2 separate regions of the Homo sapiens genome follow, and region 2 is linked to region 1. Evidence: promoter capture Hi-C in human tissues and cell types (Jung and others, 2019). All regions are on one chromosome and are shown on one strand. Each heading gives the region's core, a stretch centred on a gene start or on the middle of the fragment in contact. The rest is flanking DNA. Distances are from core to core; before and after follow the strand shown. Region 1 holds the start of BRF2 (BRF2 general transcription factor IIIB subunit). Region 2 has its middle 25 kb from the start of ASH2L.

The links. Contacts are between HindIII fragments. The study calls those that stand out against the background at their distance.
Region 2: a contact is called between a fragment that was not itself captured here and the fragment with the promoter of BRF2 in region 1, in 1 of the 25 tissues and cell types used here (spleen).

Annotation. Positions count from the first base shown.
Region 1 is chr8:37,848,573-37,851,294 of GRCh38, forward strand. BRF2 (BRF2 general transcription factor IIIB subunit) reads right to left here and starts at 1,289. Exons shown (of 4, transcript NM_018310.4): 1 at 1,058-1,289; 2 at 24-83. The coding sequence starts at 1,211. RefSeq lists enhancers at 965-1,104, 1,145-1,494. The HindIII fragment of the contact is 10,485 bases long and covers 1-2,722 here.
Region 2 is chr8:38,079,198-38,082,248 of GRCh38, forward strand. No RefSeq gene overlaps it. Among named protein-coding and RNA genes, the nearest start is that of ASH2L, 25 kb to the right of the region's middle. The HindIII fragment of the contact is 3,188 bases long and covers 1-3,005 here.

The DNA of each region.
Region 1 (2,722 bases), core at 39-2,538:
TGTTGTAAAAGGTCAATTCTCACCTCGTTGCTGGCTGCGACTAACTTGTTCGTTTTCCCCTGTGCTTCGGGAATATGTTACCTCTGTAAGATAATAAACAACAAATAGTGTGCTTAGCCTTTATTCATCAGACCCCTGCCCTCCCACCACACAAAACCAGGACGCAAAATTCAAATCATTGAGCATCTGCTGCTGCACAGTTAAAGGCCCCATCTGGTTTTCTATGTCTACAAGAGGTTCCGAATACACAGAGACTGGGAAAGGTTAGGACTGCATTAAAGCAGCTCCAAGTGTTCCAAATTTCCAGTCATCCTTCCAGTACATTCCATACAGGCAATTTTCCTAGCAGCAGATTTTGTTGTTGTTTGTTTAAGGAGTTTCCCTCTATAGTCCAGGCTGGAGCACAGTGGTGCGATCACAGCTCACGGCAGCCTTCAACTTCCAGGCTCAAGCAATCCTCCTACCTCAGATTCCTGGGTAGCTGGGATTACAGGTGTATGCCACCATACCTGGCTAATTAAAAAAAAATTTTTTTAGGCACTTGTCTCGTTACGTTACCAAGGCTGGTCTCGAGATCCTGGGCTCAAGCAATCCTCTCGGCTCTGCCTCCCAAAGCACTGGGATTACAGGCGTAAGCCACCCCACCCAGACAATGGCTGCAGATTTTGAGGGCTGCACTGGTCAGAAACTTGGAAAGCAAAGAAAAGTGATGTTTTGCCAGTTTGTGCTTAAAACTATTTCAGGGTAATAATACCTGCTATAATCGTATCGGCAATCCTTCCACAATGACCAGACATGGCAAGATGAGTGGAACTTTTGTTTCTGTCTCACTTATTCAATATTTATTACACGCACCATCTATGCCCGATACTAAGTGCTGGGAAAACACAGATGAATGGCAGCCCCCATCTCCTTCAGCTCCCTCGCTCACTTTAGGTCATTTTCTCTCAAATTAAGTGTGTGCGTTACAGTTAGGAGTATGGGGGGAGCGGGGAGGCAAAAGGAATCTGATGTTAATCCCTCCACCGCCCCAGGCTGTCCCCAGGGCCACAAGTACCTCGGAGATTGCCCTCGTCGCTGAAGGTAGTGGTAAGGACCCCCTCGGTGACCACGCAGCCGCAGTCGGAGCACACCAGCTGGCTCTGCGAATAGTGCGAGTCTTCCACCAGCTCCGTGGAGCCGCAGTCCGGGCAGCGGCCTCTGCCTGGCATCTCACAACCGGCCCCAAAGCCGCGGAAGCCTTCAGAGACTCCTGGGTCTGCAACAGCAACCGTGAGGCAGCAAGAAGTAGGAGGGGACACTTCAAAGGGTTGCACCCCCGTCTTCCGGCCAGCGCGACGGAGGCATAGGCGGTTCCCTCCGCTGGGAGGCTGCGCGCCACTTCCGGTCTGTGCCTCCGCGGGCTCGGGTAGAAACGTGAGCTAGGAGAGGAGGTTCCTGGGCTGAACTGTAGCTGTCTGGTTTCCCTGCACTCTGTAGTTAGTTTTTGGGACCTAGACTGGGGTTGAATTTGGGAAAGTTTTTGCCTACATGGACACGTATAACAGACAGAAGATTGTTGTCACCCCTGAACAACCCTCCTTTTAAAGTCCTAAGGGAATCGCAGGTTGGTAATGAATGTTTAATTGGCCATAGAAGAAAGTATATTTTTTAAAGGGAGAGTAGTGGAGAGAGAGCGGGAGCAGGAAACTGTGTTCTGCTTTCCAGAGCTGCTTCCTAAAGCAGATTCCTTCCTCTCTTTACCTCCTGTTTTTCTCAACTGTAAAATGAGGAAGTTGAAAAAAAAATCCAGAGATGCAAACCCAAACGCTTTTGGAGGCCAGGCAGGAATGTCTAAAGGAGTTTGGAGTGAAAGAATATGGAGTGATGGAGACCTGGAGCGGCGCAAGCACGCAGATTCAGATGTTTTTTAAAAAACCTTGAGCTATCTGGGCGTGGTGGCTCACGCCTGTAATCCCAGCACTTTGGAAGGCCGAGGCAGGTGGATCACCTGAGCTCGGGAGTTTGAGACCAGCCTGGGCAACATGGTGAAATCCCGTCTCTACTAAAAATACACAAAAATTAGCTGGGCGTGGTGGTGCACGTCTCTAATCCCAGCTACTCAGGAGGCTGAGGCAGGAGAATCGCTTGAACCCAGGAGGCGCAGGAGGCGCAGTGAGCCAAGATCGCGCCACTGCACTCCAGCCTGGGTGGCAGAGCGAGACTCCATCTCAAACAAAATAAAACATACCTTTAAGAAGTGTCACTCCCTTCTTTTCCACACCCAGTTTTTACACGTGATATCCAAACCTAAAGACACCATCCCTTCCCTAAGAGACTGCTTTCTCAGAGTGTGAGAATCACTACTCCTTTTCAGAGACATCCCGTCCATTCCCATGGGGATCGCTCACATTGGAGGGCCAAGAGACACAATAATACCCAACGGTCCTTTCTCTTCAATTTGAATTACTTTAGTATCATAACAGAAGGGGGCTTCAGCACATTAATCGTGGGTGGGATCCGGCAGTCCAAGCCCCCCCGCCTTTTCTAGACCTCCCCACTAGCGTGAGATACAGGATGAGAGCTTATTTCTGGCTGTCTGACAGTTAAATATTAAGATACATTTGCACATGCGCACCCGCACACACACACCACTCAGAGACATCCATTAGTTTTAGTGTGGTTGACATTCTTATTTGGATGAAGAAAGTGTCCCTGAAAGCGACATAACTTGCACTGGGAA
Region 2 (3,051 bases), core at 162-2,661, 230 kb after region 1:
GGAGGAAAAACTGAAGCTAAATTAATATTTAAATGGAATAAACTGAAGCTAAATTAATATAAGTAGAGAGTTTATTTGCACCAAGCTTGAGGATTGTAACATGGGAGCACAGATTTAAGTTTCCTGAATATACATTCCAATTAGCAGCAGTTACAAGTGGATTTATTTATTTATTTATTTATTTATTTTTTGAGAGGGAGTTTCGCTCTTGTTACCCAGGCTGGAGTGCAATGGCGTGATCTCAGTTCACCACAACCTCCACCTCCCAGGTTCAAGCAATTCTCCTGCCTCAGCCTCCTGAGTAGCTGGGACTACAGACACGCACCACCATGCCTGGCTAATTTTGTATTTTTAGTAGAGACAGGATTTCTCCATGTTGGTCAGGCTGGTCTCGAACTCCCAACCTCAGGTGATCTGCCTGTCTCAGCCTCCCAAAGTGCTAGGATTACAAGCGTGAGCCACCATGCCCAGCCACAAGTGGACTTTTTTTTGTTTTTTGAAACAGAGTTTTGCTCTTGTCGCCCAGGCTAGAGTGCAATGGCTCAATCTCGGCTCACTGCAACCTCTTTCTCCTGGGTTCAAGCGATTCTCCTGCCTCAACCTCCCGAGTAGCTGAGATTACAGGTGCCCACCACAACACCTGGCTAATTTTTGAATTTTTGGTAAAGATGGGGTTTCACCATGTTGGCCAGGCTGGTCTTGAACTCCTGACCTCAGGTGATCCACCCACCTCAGCCTCCCAAAGTGCTGGGATTACAGGTGTGAGCCACCGTGCTGGTCCACAAGTGGATTTTTAAAGGGAAAGAAGAGGCAGTTCCTGAGTTGTTTACCAAGAATTTCCATCAAAATAACATAAGCTGCTGATTGGCTATATACATTGTTAAGCTATAGGGTGTGGGTTATAGTGGCTGTTGCAGCACTGTTAGGTTAATTTATGGCTACTTTTAGCAATAGCAAGCAATTTCAAGAGATGAACACATAGCTCAAAATGGGGTGGGGGAAAGTAGGACGTGATTGCTATTTCATTTTAATGCCTCTTTGGGCCTGATAATTTAAAAGGACTCCCATGCATCAGATAAAACTTATTTTCTTACCTGGTACGGGGATGGGACATAACTTGTTTTCATACAAGTTCTCTCCCTTGGGTATTGAAGGCCCTGTGGTCAGTACAGGCTGGGAGCAGTGGCTCACGACTGTAATCCAAGCACTTCGGCAGGCCAAGGCAGGAGGATCGCTTGAGTCCATGAGTTCAAGACCAACCTGGGCAACATAGTAAATCCTGTCTCTACAAAAATTTTAAAATTAGCCAAGTGCGATGGCACACACCTGTAGTCCCAGCTACTTAGGAGGCTGAGTGGCGTGAACACATCTCACTGCAACCTTGACCTCCTGGGCTCAAACAATCCTCCTGCCTTGGCCTCCTGAATAACTAAGGCTACAGGCATGCACCATCACACTCGGCTAATTTTTTTTCTTTTTTTTTTGAGACAGAGTCTCACTCTGTCACCAAGGCTGGAGTGCAGTGGTGTGATCTCAGCTCACTGCAACCTCCACCTCCCGGGTTCAAGCAATTCCCCTGCCTCAGCCTCCTGAGTAGCTGGGATTACAGGCGCCCGCCACCATGACCGGCTAATTTTTGTATTTTTAGCAGAGACGGGGTTTCACCATGTTGTCTAGGCTGGTCTTGAACTCCTGACCTCAAGTGATCCACCTGCCTTGGCCTCCCAAAGTGCTGGGATTACAGGCGTGAACCATCACGCCCAGTCCAGCTAATTTTTTAAATTTTTTGTAGAGTCGGGGTCTCACTATGTTGCCCAGGCTGGTCTCCAACCCATGGGCCCAAGTGATCCTCCTAACTTGGCCTCCCAAAGTGCTGAGAGACAAAGCAGGGACCGCACCCTCCCTCTCCACTCCCCCACCTACTTGTTAGAGGCCTGCCAAGTCCCTCCCAAGCGTGGAAATAAAGGAAAATCTTGAGTTCCCTCAAAGAAAATTCCAAGCACCTAGCTAGCCTTGATAAATAAACGAGCAACGTGATAAGCAAGAATGTAATAGTAGCCTAAAACAACAGCAAAGGAAGCTAGAGCCAGGAAATGTTTGGTTCCCTATGTAAACTGAAGATAACATCTTAGCGCGTGTCCCTGAACTGTTTTTCAGAGACTGGACCCCCACCCAATGGATCTGCTGGCACACAGACCTCAGATAAGGAGAAACTGAGGACTGAACTCTGACAGCTGTCCTTTATTCTAAAGTTCTTCCTGAGGGGCCTAGAGCAAGTCACAGTCACAACATTGAGCTAACATTCTTTTCTTCTGACCCCAAATTTTTCTCCCTTAAACAATTGCAAATCAGAAAATCTTTGAATTTACCTGTTGCTTGTAACACCCCTACATTCCCCCGAACCCTCCTCGCCTTCAAGATACCCGACTCTTTTAAGCCAAAACCAATGTGTAAGCTTCATGTACTGACTTATGACTTTGCCTGTAACTTCTGCTTTCCCGAATTTTACCCCTGCCTTTAAGAACCCTTACCTGCAAGCTACTGGGGAAGTCAGGATTTGAGAGCGAGCTACCTGGTCCTTCCTGCTTGGTGCACTGCAAATAAATGTCTTCCTTTCTGCTGTTGCGGGACAATCAGAGACGGGAAAGACGAACAGAGTTCAGGAAAGCCTTTATTAAGGTGATCACCTGGCTCAGTAGGACTAGCATCCAGGAAAGTCTGAGCCTCGGCAAAGAAAGCAGCCACCTTTTAAGCAGTCAGTGGCTGAGAGCTACCTGGTGCAGGAAGCGTACTTACAGAAGTGAGAACAAAGGCAGTTGATCAGTCTTTTACATTTATGTATACTACATGTTCTACATCCTTGGGAAACTCTGTTTCTGTAACATACGCTTATCAACCTTGTAACTTTGCAGCTGCGCTAGGGAGGTGAAGCAGGAACTCGCTGAGCCTCAAGGAATGTGAAACTGGTGAGTACAGATAAGGCTTGCTGAGCACAGAAGGAAAAACAGGCAGTTAGTATTGTTCTCTAACTTAGACTACGTGGGGTGCAGG